Linked DNA regions of Homo sapiens: all the other regions are linked to region 1. The links are contacts of gene promoters, found by promoter capture Hi-C in human tissues and cell types (Jung and others, 2019). All regions are on one chromosome and are shown on one strand. Each heading gives the region's core, a stretch centred on a gene start or on the middle of the fragment in contact. The rest is flanking DNA. Distances are from core to core; before and after follow the strand shown.

The links. Contacts are between HindIII fragments. The study calls those that stand out against the background at their distance.
Region 2: a fragment that was not itself captured here is called in contact with the fragment with the promoter of SST in region 1 in 1 of the 25 tissues and cell types used here (hippocampus).
Region 3: a contact is called between a fragment that was not itself captured here and the fragment with the promoter of SST in region 1, in 1 of the 25 tissues and cell types used here (aorta).
Region 4: a fragment that was not itself captured here is called in contact with the fragment with the promoter of SST in region 1 in 1 of the 25 tissues and cell types used here (IMR-90 fibroblasts).

Annotation. Positions count from the first base shown.
Region 1 is chr3:187,669,068-187,672,016 of GRCh38, forward strand. It overlaps SST (somatostatin), which reads right to left and starts at 1,327. Exons shown (of 2, transcript NM_001048.4): 1 at 1,087-1,327; 2 at 1-210. The coding sequence starts at 1,224. The HindIII fragment of the contact is 6,645 bases long and covers 1-2,949 here.
Region 2 is chr3:188,933,337-188,936,203 of GRCh38, forward strand. No RefSeq gene overlaps it. Among named protein-coding and RNA genes, the nearest start is that of TPRG1-AS1, 13 kb to the right of the region's middle. The HindIII fragment of the contact is 3,806 bases long and covers 1-2,867 here.
Region 3 is chr3:189,083,786-189,086,672 of GRCh38, forward strand. All of the region lies in intron 2 of LOC107986167 (a long non-coding RNA gene), which reads right to left. It also overlaps a transcript of TPRG1 not described here. Among named protein-coding and RNA genes, the nearest start is that of TPRG1, 87 kb to the right of the region's middle. The HindIII fragment of the contact is 4,807 bases long and covers 1-2,887 here.
Region 4 is chr3:188,994,501-188,997,486 of GRCh38, forward strand. It overlaps a transcript of TPRG1 not described here. Among named protein-coding and RNA genes, the nearest start is that of TPRG1-AS1, 48 kb to the left of the region's middle. The HindIII fragment of the contact is 7,765 bases long and covers 1-2,986 here.

The DNA of each region.
Region 1 (2,949 bases), core at 77-2,576:
ACAGGATGTGAAAGTCTTCCAGAAGAAATTCTTGCAGCCAGCTTTGCGTTCTCGGGGTGCCATAGCCGGGTTTGAGTTAGCAGATCTCTGCAGCTCAAGCCTCATTTCATCCTGCTCAGCAGCCTGGGACAGATCTTCAGGTTCCAGGGCATCATTCTCCGTCTGGTTGGGTTCAGACAGCAGCTCTGCCAAGAAGTACTTGGCCAGTTCCTGTATAGGGCAGAAGGGATAGAAAAAGAGAGAAAGAGAAGTGGGGAGGACAATGGAAAAAATTTGAAAAGCCTAAATTAAAGAACAGATTTGGTCACACACAAAATCCAGTTTTTACAGCTGCGCATTTTTTGTCACATTTAAAATCAATCAAGGATATAAAAATAAGGATAGTTGCTATAATTACCAAGTTACACAAAAAGGCTTTAAGAGCTCAAATGTTTCTGCAACCTTTCTGTCCCTGTAGACTTAACACACACACACACACACACACACGCACAAACACACACACACACACACACACACACATAAAGACCGTTCTGGTAAGATAAAGTGTGTGCCAACAGTTTAATTCAATTTTCACATCACGAGCTACAAAGTAGAATTGTTTTACCATTTTTACCAAGTAAACTGTAGGGGAACGAGACTTCTCACAATCTCAAACATACGGCGTTCGGTCTTTAGATTGCCCCTTTGCCCTAGTCCCGACGTTTGGAAGTGAGGTACGCTAAGAGGTAGCAGCTTCAGAGGTCTGCGTTTCAGCACCTGGGTCAGCGCTTCCCAGGGTCAGCACCAGGGATAGACGCCATTGTCGCTTCGTGCCCAGACAACTACCCAGATTTTGTAATTTTCTTGAATGCCAAGTAAGAACTCACCTGAACTGTGACCGACTGCGCTTATCATGGGGGAAAAAAAGAGTTAGAAGGGGATTCTAGCCTTTGATAGTTTTCTCAAGAGCTTCGGGAGCTGAGGGACCCAGAAAAGCACCAAAACTCTTTAGAAGGACTGAGCATCCCTTACGTCCAAACCAATGGGGCAGGAGCAAGGCTTAGGGAGGGCTGGAGAATCCGGGAGACGTCGAGGGAGTCTCCTTACCTGCTTCCCCGCGGCAGCAGCCAGGGACTTCTGCAGAAACTGACGGAGTCTGGGGTCCGAGGGAGCGCCGGTGACACAGCCCAGGGCCAGGACGATGGACAGCGCAGCCAGCGCGCACTGGAGGCGGCAGGACAGCATCTCGGCGCCGCGAAAGCCGAGCTGGAGAGTGGCTGGTCAAACTCTAGGCGCGGATCAGCAGGCAGCAGCGATGGCTCCGAACCTCGCTCCTAAAGCGGCTTGTGTGCTCTCAACCGTCTCCCTCTGTTTTAAACTCTCTCTCTGACGTCAGGCTAGGAGGCGCCCCCAGATCTCACCAGCCCTTTTACGCACCATTAGCCTCGCAAAATCAATCACAGAAGACAGGGGAGGTGACAAGATCTAAAGTGGCTTACTTAAAAAAAAAAAAATACTGCACACGCACAGGCACACACAATTCCACATGCCCCACGATTTATACAATCTTTTATTTTCACTCAGTGCTATGAGCATACACATTCCACAATTTCACTCCCACACATGCACACTCAATTACACACAAACAGAGGCTCAAACACTCAGCTCTTAAAGAGCAAATACACTATCACCCTTAAATGCACACAAATGTACCCAGACAACTCCATCTGTCATCATACTCTAACATTTTAGGAAGGCCCAACAAGCAACAGGGCATGTGTATGGTAGGTGGAGATCAGAATCATTCCTCTAATAACAGATTTGAGAATGAAATATGGACAGTAGAAGGACTGAGCCCTCTTTATTTCCTCCATTATCTCATAAAAAGCCTTGAAGATGTAACGGGGCTCTAAAAGAACTTCACTTTTCTCTACAATGGGGGAGAAGGTACCTCTGGCTCACCCTCCCTCCCTCTTTCTCAGCAACTGAGACTTCTGATCTACCTGCCTTTCTATTGTGACCATATATATGTATGAGTGTGTGTATATGTACGGGAGGGAAAGAGAGAGAGAGAGATTGAAATGGACTTCATTTTGGTGCTGAGAAATTTAGAGCTGGAAGGCAATCTAAGAAATTATTCAATAAACCTCAGAATTTGAATCAGTAAGGCAGAGTAATGGTCAGTAAATTGTTCTCCTTCACATACTGCACACTTTGAGCAAAACCAGACCTCCACATTCCAAAGCCAGTGTTCCTTCTACTGAGCTCTGAGTTTTCTAACAGATTCCTGGCCGGTAAGCATAGTTTTATGTCAGGAAGCCCCAGTTTAGACATATAAGGTCTAGGAACTCCCAGAACATATGTGACCACTATTGTATATCTATATGTGGAAAGGATCAAAAGATTCTTGGTTAAATTCAGCTCTGCCTGATCTCCTAGAAACAAAGAAAGTTTAAGAAAACCTGTCCTTGAATTCTGATTGAACTCTGGTTAAATGTTTACTGTTCAGGCCAGAGTTCTGACTGCTTTTATCTAAATAGTTCCTTACTGAGGAAGGACCAGCTAATTTCCTAGCATGGACGAGATGATCCCTACAGGATCTTTAAGAGCTGTTATCTTATGAGCTTCAAAAAAGCCAATATTAGCTAAAAAGATATGCTGCATCTCTGGAAACCATGCGAAGCTCATATTAGGTATTAAAATATTCTCAGTACTTAGACCCGAACCACAGTGTTGAGAGGCAGAAGGGTTTGGGAAGTATCCTGAATGGCTTGAATAATTGTCACTATTTCTTTTTGTGCTTGTAATCCAAGGCAAAGCGGAAATGCACAGCAAGAAGTGTTAAAGTTTCCAGGTCTTGACAAGGCCAGCCAAGACTAAGCACAAAGTGGGGCATTAAAAAGTCATTCACATGTGTTGGAGTAGTCTAAGAGATCAATGAATCTGGAGCTGTGGAACCCAGTCCTAGGA
Region 2 (2,867 bases), core at 75-2,574, 1.3 Mb after region 1:
AGAGATTTAGAGAGTCAGACACTGATTGTTTCGTAAAGGCAGGGGACTTTGATTAAAAAAGTGAAAGTAATTTTCTGAAATGTCATTAGAGGCCTAAGAGGACTATGCACAGTGAAACACCCTGAAGTGGGTGGTTCTATAGCACTGAGACACCTCAAGTGTGCTCTACCAAGTGTAGCTGGGGTGGCACAGATACACAGAGGCCTCTGACTAGGATGCCCAGGGGCCTGGAGAGGAAGCTGCTCATCTGCAGGACTTACCCTTGGGAGGTTCCTGGGCTGGCAATGCCTGGGAGAAGATAACCCAGGATATAGTCAGGGGTCCTGGATTTGAGACCCAACTCTGGTACTTAATAGTTATTTGTTTCCTTGCCTGCCTAGACTCAGTTTTGTTATTTGTAAGTTGGCAATGAGACTAGCTTTTCTGTGTTGATGTGAAGATGAAATTATATATGGATGCACTAACTGTAAAGTGCTATAAATTGAATGATTATTATTGGAGAGCATGTGCAAAGAACATCTAAATGAGATTTTATTCACTGTGCATTATTAATTTTCCTTTCTAAAAATCAGTGTCTCCTGCCACTAATTTATCATTATAATAATTCTTATTCATTTTAGATAATGAGAGAAATCACAATGATGCTTTCTGGTGGAATGACTCCTTTAGTTAAATAAATCTCCAAGTGCTTAAAGGTGAATTTCCCTCTGGCTTTAAGAGATTGATGGCTTATACTATCTTACAGTTAGTTGAAAAAAGTTCATTGTCCGTTTTAGCCTTGGGGAGTATGCTCTCAAACTGTAGTCACAAAATAATTTCACTCTGCTGTATAAGAAGCTCAATTCAAGTAAACCAAATTTATTGAAAACTTCCTCTTGCCAGGAACTATGTTAATGAAGGACCATTCAGAGATGAATGTGACCTTCACCCTACTATTTAGGGGCTCACTCTGGTGGAACAAGTAGACACACATACAAAATTCAGTGCAACATAATGAGGGATCAGTTCTAAAATAGAAGTATTATTTTGTGCCATTGGAAATGGAAGAAAGAAAAAGCTAATTCTGAACTGAGGGTATGTGGGACATACAAGTAGAGAAGGTACAGTCCAAGCTTGTATAATCCATGGCCCGTGGGCCTCATGCAGCCCAGAATAGCTTTGAATTTGGCCCAACACAAATTTATAAACTTTCTTAACACATTATGAGATTTTTTGGTGATTTTTTTTTTTAAGACAAAGTCTCGCTCTTGTTGCGCCAGGCTGGAGTACAATGGCATGATCTCAGCTCACTGCAACCTCTGCCTCCTGAGTTCAAGCGATTCTCCTGCCTTAGCCTCCCAAGTAGCTGGGATTACAGGCACCTGCCACCACGCCCAGCTAATTTTTGTATTTTTAGTAGAGACGGGGTTTCACCATGTTGGCCAGGCTGGTCTCGAACTCTGACCTCAGGCGATCCACCTGCCTCAGCCTCCCGAAGTGCTGGAATTACAGGCGTGAGCCCCCACACCCAGCCGGTGATTTTTTTTTCAAGCTCATCAGCTACTGTTAGTGTTAATGTACTTTATGTGTGGCCCAAGACAATTCTTCCTCTAATGTGGCCCAAGGAAGCCAAAAGATTGGACACCCCAGAAACAGTCTTGAAAACTTACTAGAACTTTGGCAGAATTAGAGAGGGAAGGGCCTGTTGGAGCAATGGAGAGCTTAGAGATTTTGGGGGGAAAAATCTTTTTGGGGGAATGGCAAGGGTCTGAAGCTTATTGGAAGACAGTCATGAACAAGCGGTCTGGAGCCAGACGAGTGCGGAGGACCCTTGAGAAACAGATGAGGTTTGGTTTTATTCTGTAGACAAAAGTGCCTTTGGAGGTGTCAGAGTAGATCAGATCAGAGCACAGCTTTTGTGAGAAAAGTGTGTCAGTCGTAAGCAAATGTACGGTGCCTTGCTTTCTTTTCCTGCTCCCCAGCAGGCTGGGTTTTAGGAAGGAAAGGCTGAGCAAAAGCTTAGGAAATGGATCTGACTGACTACTCCCACAAACCATTCTTGACCTTCTTTTGTAAATACCCAATTACCTGTTCATTTCCCCAATTAACTCATCAGTGAAATCAAATCAATCATTATTAATTCTAACTTTAATAAACATTTTTTAGTTTACATATATGATGCTCTTCCTCAAATCATAAATAACTGCATGATGTGTGTGAACTTTCCAAAGGTAGTTTAGGTGGAGAAAAAAATGACATTCAGTTAACAAGCTTATCAGAAGCTGAATCATTACAAATGACAGATATTAAAAATGTAATTAGAATATATATTGTCTAGGAAGACATGCCATATTAATTAGGGGTAAAAAGCCTATGTTTCAGCTCTCAGAATATAAAGTTGAAAGAAGCCTGTGGATTAATATCCATAATCATGGGCAGCGTTGTAGCATGGTAGGTTAGCACAGCACTGTAGTGTCAGAGCACCTGAGTTAAATCCTGGTTCTGTCCCTGTGAGCTATGTGACCCCAGGTAAGTATATAATCTCACTGAGCTTTAGCTTACCCACCTGTAAAGGTTAGATGAAAACAGCATTCTATCTCAGAGTTGCAAAGACTAGGTGAGCTAATATATTAATAAGTAGAACTCTCAGAACAGTGCCTGCTGTATCATAGATGCTATGTAAGTATTACCTATCATTATTTACTTTTTTTTTTTTTTTTTGAGACAGGGTCTTGCTCTGTCACCCAGGCTGGAGTGCAGTGCACAATCACAGCTCACTGCAGCCTCAACTTCCCAGACTTAAGCTATTCTCCCACTGCAGCCTCCTGAGTAGCTAGGACTACAGGTGCATGCTGCCGTACTCAGCTAATTTTTGCATTTTTGTAGAG
Region 3 (2,887 bases), core at 280-2,779, 1.4 Mb after region 1:
CATTTTTGTCATTCACTGGCTGTTAATTTTCTTTATCTCTGATCTTCAGCTTCTTCATAGGAACACTGAGGATAGTAACACCTCCTGTTAGGGTTATTAAAAACAAAATGGGTCAGGCATGGTGGCTCACGCCTGTAATCCCAGCACTTTGGGAGGCTGAGGCAGGCGGATCACCAGAGATTGGGAGTTTGAGATCAGCCTGGCTAATGTGGTGAAACGGCTGGGCGTGGTGGCACATGCCTGCAATTCCAGCTACTTGGGAGGCTGAGGCAGAAGAATCACTTGAACCTGGGAGGCGGAGGTTGCAGTGAGCCAGGATTGCACTGTTGCACTCCAGCCTGGGTGACAGAGTGAGACTCCGTCTCCAAAAAAAAAAGAAAAGAAAAAAATGTACCATGCGTTGAAGACATAATAGGTGCTCAGTGAATATTGCCAACAATTATTTTATTATAAATTAGATATTCTAATAATGGACACTATTAACCTATACATAAAAATGTGGCTTTATAAAGTACCAATAGAAATACCAATACGTATGAGCTTGTCAAGGGGTCTTACTGAATTAAGAAACTTTCTGCTCAATATATATTCTATCATAAAAATAAGGAGCCATCCTTTGAGAATGCCCTGTTCTTTAGCTGTTTCATTACTCAGGCTTGCCTCAGAATTCCACTCAGCTTGTCATTCCTCATGTTTCTTTTCCTCTGACAAGAAACTGAGAAAGTCCAAGGATCTTTTCCATGTATGCAACTTAAAGATTTCAACCTAATTAAAGTAACTTTGCTTAATTAGGTTAAATATAACTTCTTTTATTCTGAATCAGAATCTAGAGAAAGCTATTCATTAACTAAGCTTTCTGTCTCTCACTATGCGTTTCTCTCAGAACTGCCATCTCTCCTCCACCCTCCACTTGGAACACTGTTATGTGGCCTAAATGGATGCTGGTCTTGTAAACCTATGTTTCCTGTGTAGTATCTAGATACAGCCCATTATCTGACATCATGCGTAAGAGGAAACTTCCTAAGTCCACACAGTTGCTACAAATAGTTACGCAACACTTGACCTTACCCAAATGTTTCAGGAGAGACTTCGCACCCCCAAAGGAAGCCAACCATATTTTTGTCATTTCTCTTGCCCCAGAAATAGTAGATGCTTGATAAAACATGTTAAATTACAGTAACAGACAATATGTGCACATGCTTTACCAAGAATAGTTGCAAACATTTTCTCATATGATCCTTGCAGCAGTCCTCTAAGAAAAATATGATTGTGCTGTTTAACAAATGAGGACACGTAGATTGAGTGATTTTATCCAAGTTACATGAATCATAAACTAGTAAAGCCTTGCCTTGACTCTAAAAACAAAACAAAAGCGAAAAGCAAGTACCGGGCTCTGTTACCAAGTGGGGCATAGGTACATTACGGTCCTATAGGTGGGGTGAGGTGAAGGATACTCAATGCCTGAAGGTGTGTCAGTCTGTCAATGAGCTATTCAGCTGTAAGCTATCCCCACAATTCATAGACATGCAATTCACATCTCATAGTATTTGCAAGACATGCAATTCATATCTCATAGTATTGGAAAACAAAAGGGAAAGATGGCTGGCGGTGGATACACATTTTCATTAATGTTTGGATTCCTCGTGTCTGTGTGTGTGTGCATGTGTGTGTGTGTGTGTGTGTGTGTGTATTATGGAGTTCCAGTAGCTGAATGTTGCAGCTAGACCAATGTTTGCTTCCCTAACAGGAGATAGCTGTTGCTGTCTGGTTCATTCTTTCCTGGGAGAGTCCTAATTAATATATGTTCCTCTCTTAACATGAGCTAATAACTAACTCCTCAGCCTAATCAAGAAGTATTTGAAGCAAATATACTGAGATTACAACTTTCCTTCCAGTTGAAGGATGACATCAGCAGCTTTATAGTGGAAACACTTTAACTTCTCAGGAATAAGTGATCTGATCCATAATGAAAAGTTCAAAGGCACAAATATTGTTACCGTTATGAAATTAATTGAAGATTAAAATCCATTTACACTTGAGGATATGGATGTATTTCATTCATTTTGCTTTCAATAAAATAAGAGTCATAAAATCATGAAATTAAGTGTTCAATCACTGTATTAGTCAGGGTTCTCTAGAGGGACAGGACTAACAGGATAGATGTATATATGAAAGGGAATTTATTAAGGAGTGCTGACTCACACCATCGCAAGATGAAGTCCCACAATAGGCCATCTGCAAGCTGAGGAGCAACGAAGTCAGTCTGAGTCCCAAAACCTCAAAAGCAGGGAAGCCGACAGTGCAGCCTTCAGCCTGTGTCTGAAGGCCTGAGAGCCCCTGGCAAACCACTAGTGTAGGTCAAAGGGTCCAAAAGCTGAAGAACTAGGAGTCTGATGTTCAAGGGCAAGAAGCATCCAGCACAGGAGAAAGGTGGAGGCCAGAAGGCTCAGCCAGTCTAGTCCTTCCGCATTCCTCTGCCTGCTTTTATCCTAGCTGTGCTGGCAGCTGATTAGATGGTGCCCACCCAGATTGTGGGTGGGTCTTCTTCTCCCAGTCCACTGATTCAAATTTTTTTTTTTTTTTGAGATAGGGTCTCACTCTCTTTCCCAGGCTCCCAGGCTGCACTGCAGTGGCACAATCAAAGCTCATTGCATCCTGGAGCTTCTGGGCTCAAGCAATCCTCCCTCCTCAGCCTCCCCAAAATTCTGGGACTGCAGGCATGTGCCACCACACCCAGCTAATTTTTTTTTTTTTTTTTTGAGATGGAAGTTTGCTCTTGTTGCCTAGGCTGGAGTGCAATGTCGTGATCTCGGCTCACCACAACCTCCGCCTCCCGGATTCAAGTGATTCTCCTGCCTCAGCCTCCCAAGTAGCTGGGATTACAGGC
Region 4 (2,986 bases), core at 325-2,824, 1.3 Mb after region 1:
TCCAGACCAGTGAGCTCCTTGTCAGTGGATGTGTTCAAGCAGAAGCTAAGTAACCACTTGCTAGAGATATTTTAAAGAGTTAAGACGGAGAGTTGTCTTAATTGATGTGATATCCACTTGAACCCAGGGTGTCTGTGATATTAGTTATTATTAGTCTCCTCAGGGAGGTTCTTGATGCATTGTAACCTGGGGCTCAGGAGTTGAGCAAGGATGAATAAATTGAACTTTAAAGGCTAAGTTTGAAATATTTTTTCTTATCTTCTGAAGTCAGAAAGATTTCAATGTTTATATTATTATGACTGTAAAAGCAAGGTTTATTGTTAAGATAAATAATAAATTATGATTGCTTGAGTTTTTATACAGTTCTTTGTTTTCCCTGAAGTCAATAGTTGCCTTGTTTATTAATTTTTCTTATTTTTAAATACATATAACTAATTTGTTTCCAGATGTTCTGTTTTATAAAATACTCTGCATTATTATTTTATACACAACCAAATGCACTAAATCATCCATCAAGTGCATGTAGCAATTGGTACCCAACTGTTAGTTATATATCCAACATCCATTGTCCTTTTTTCTTTTACTAATGGGAGCCGCATACAAGCTTAAGGTAACAATATGTCCAGCTTTAGAAATCATTTCCTAGCCTTTCTTGCAGCAAATATGTCCATAAGATACAGCCTTCTAAAGAAGATGTAAATAGCTGTCTACTGGGGTTTAGGGACAGGTCCTTTCCTGTTAAAGGCATTGCCTATTTCTCCTTATTACCACCACCATCACATCCTCTTCTTCATCCTCCTTCTCCTTGTTTTTCCCCTCCTTTTCTGCTCTGTCTTCTTCCTTCTTGTCTGAATATACTGATTTTAGGTGAGGGGTTGAGCAGCCTTTACATCACATGAGGAAACTGTAAGAATAAAGATATAAGGAGCAGGATTTTAGAGACAGTAATGGCAATGCAAAAACAGTCCAGCACTTTTCATCTGTGGATCTCTGCTTAAATGTTGGAAAATATCTTTTTAATTTAATGACTTTGGTAAGGCTTATAAAATATCCAGCCAAATACAACCCTAACTGATACCAATGACGTTTCCAATCAGTGTATTTCTCAATAAATTATGTTGATACATGTGTCTAGCTGTGTGGGAAAAAAGGAAGTGAAATCTTTTCTTTTTACACCAAAATTAATTCTGTAGGAACGAATAATATCAATGTAAAAAATGAGAGAAACCATTGAAATTTTAGAAAAACCTACATTTTATAAAATATAATCTTCCATTGTGGAAGGTTTGTCTAAGTATTACTGAAACCACCAAGATAAAATGATCACTAAATATAACCAAATAGCAATTAAAATTTTCTATGCAGATGTCTTAATGAGGCAAGTAATTAATTGCTAAGAAAATTATGACCATACTAAAGCAGAGAGCTAATATCCTTAATATATAAAGAGCTGTTCAATAGCAACAAGAAAAATGTATCGAAGTTAAAGAAAAATTGTCAAAGGAAACAGACAATTCCAAGAAAAAAGAAAAGCATCTGTGGAAAGCCTCTCACAAAACAGACTAAATAAATAAAATACAATAACAAATAAAAATAATTAAAGTAGATATAATGAAAGAAGCCAATTAAAATTATAAACAATATCCTCAGAGAGATATAAAAATATAGAATATTCTGGAAATAAGAATATGATGTTTCATATCTTTAAAAACCAAACAAGAAACAAGAACAACTGGAGAATAAAAAAGAGCTTTGGGAGATTAAAAATATGTAATAAAAAGGTCTGAAGAATGGCTGGAATACAGACATAACCGGGAAATTAAAATAAAAAAGACAAAGGACATAGTTAATAGAATAAAGAAGAAAATTGAAAGACTAAACCATATCCTCAAAGAGTCAACTATCAGGAGCTCTGGAAATAAAGACCAGAGTAAACAGTGAAGAAGAAATTACCCAATCAATGATTGAAAAAAAATTCCCAGATCCAAAGGACCTGATTTTTCAGGTTGAAGATGTACATGTCATGGCTATCATAAGAAGTGAAAAAAAGACCAAGAATACTGTGGACAGAGAGAAGTTTTCTAAAAGCTACTAGGAGAGAAGATGCCATATACAAAAAGATCAGAAATAAAAATGGCATCTCCATCTATTTGTATTTTACTTTAACGTTTAATCTGGAAAATATGTTGAAATTAATTAAATATGTTTTCTACTGAAATTGAGTCTTAAACTGTGAGATACCTCTTAGCTATGAGCAACATGACTACAAGAGGGACTTGGTGCTAGAGGGTAGGTACACTGGCACAAACTATTTTCCTTGCTGGAAAAACAACTCAAAGCAAGTGAGGTTCGTCAGTGCCAGTTCGAAGTGCTTTCTTTCTTTCTCTTTTTTTTTTTTTTTTTCTGAGTCTCACTCTGTCACCCAGGTTGGAGTGCAGTGGTGCGATCTTGGCTCACTGAAACCTCTGCCTCCCAGGTTCAAGTGAATCTCCTCCCTCAGCCTCCTGAGTAGCTGGGATTACAGGCGCGTGCCACCATACCTGGCTAATTTTTTATATTTTTAGCAGAGACAGCGTTTCACCAAATTGGTCAGACTGGTCTCGAACTCCTGACCTCGTGATCCACCAGCCTCAACCTACCAAAGTGGTGGGATTACAGGCATGAGCCGCTGCACCCGGCCAGAAGTGCTTTTTAAATTCATGTCATTTATGTTTTCTTCTCTCTCTCCCTCCTTCTATGCATTTTTTTCTTTAGCAAACATTTTCAAGATTTGACATAGGTAGAATAATTTCTAAGCTGAGAAGCATCCATTCTATTGCCTTATGTGTCACTTTTCCCCTGGGGCTCTCACTGTAATCGCTGGCTCCATCAGATGGTCCTCTTTAAATACTCTCTTACTTTCTGTACAGTTCAGAAAATCTTTCCTCAGATTTTTAAATACATCAAACTCTGAGGAAAGCTATAGGAAAATGTTTTTCTTATGAAG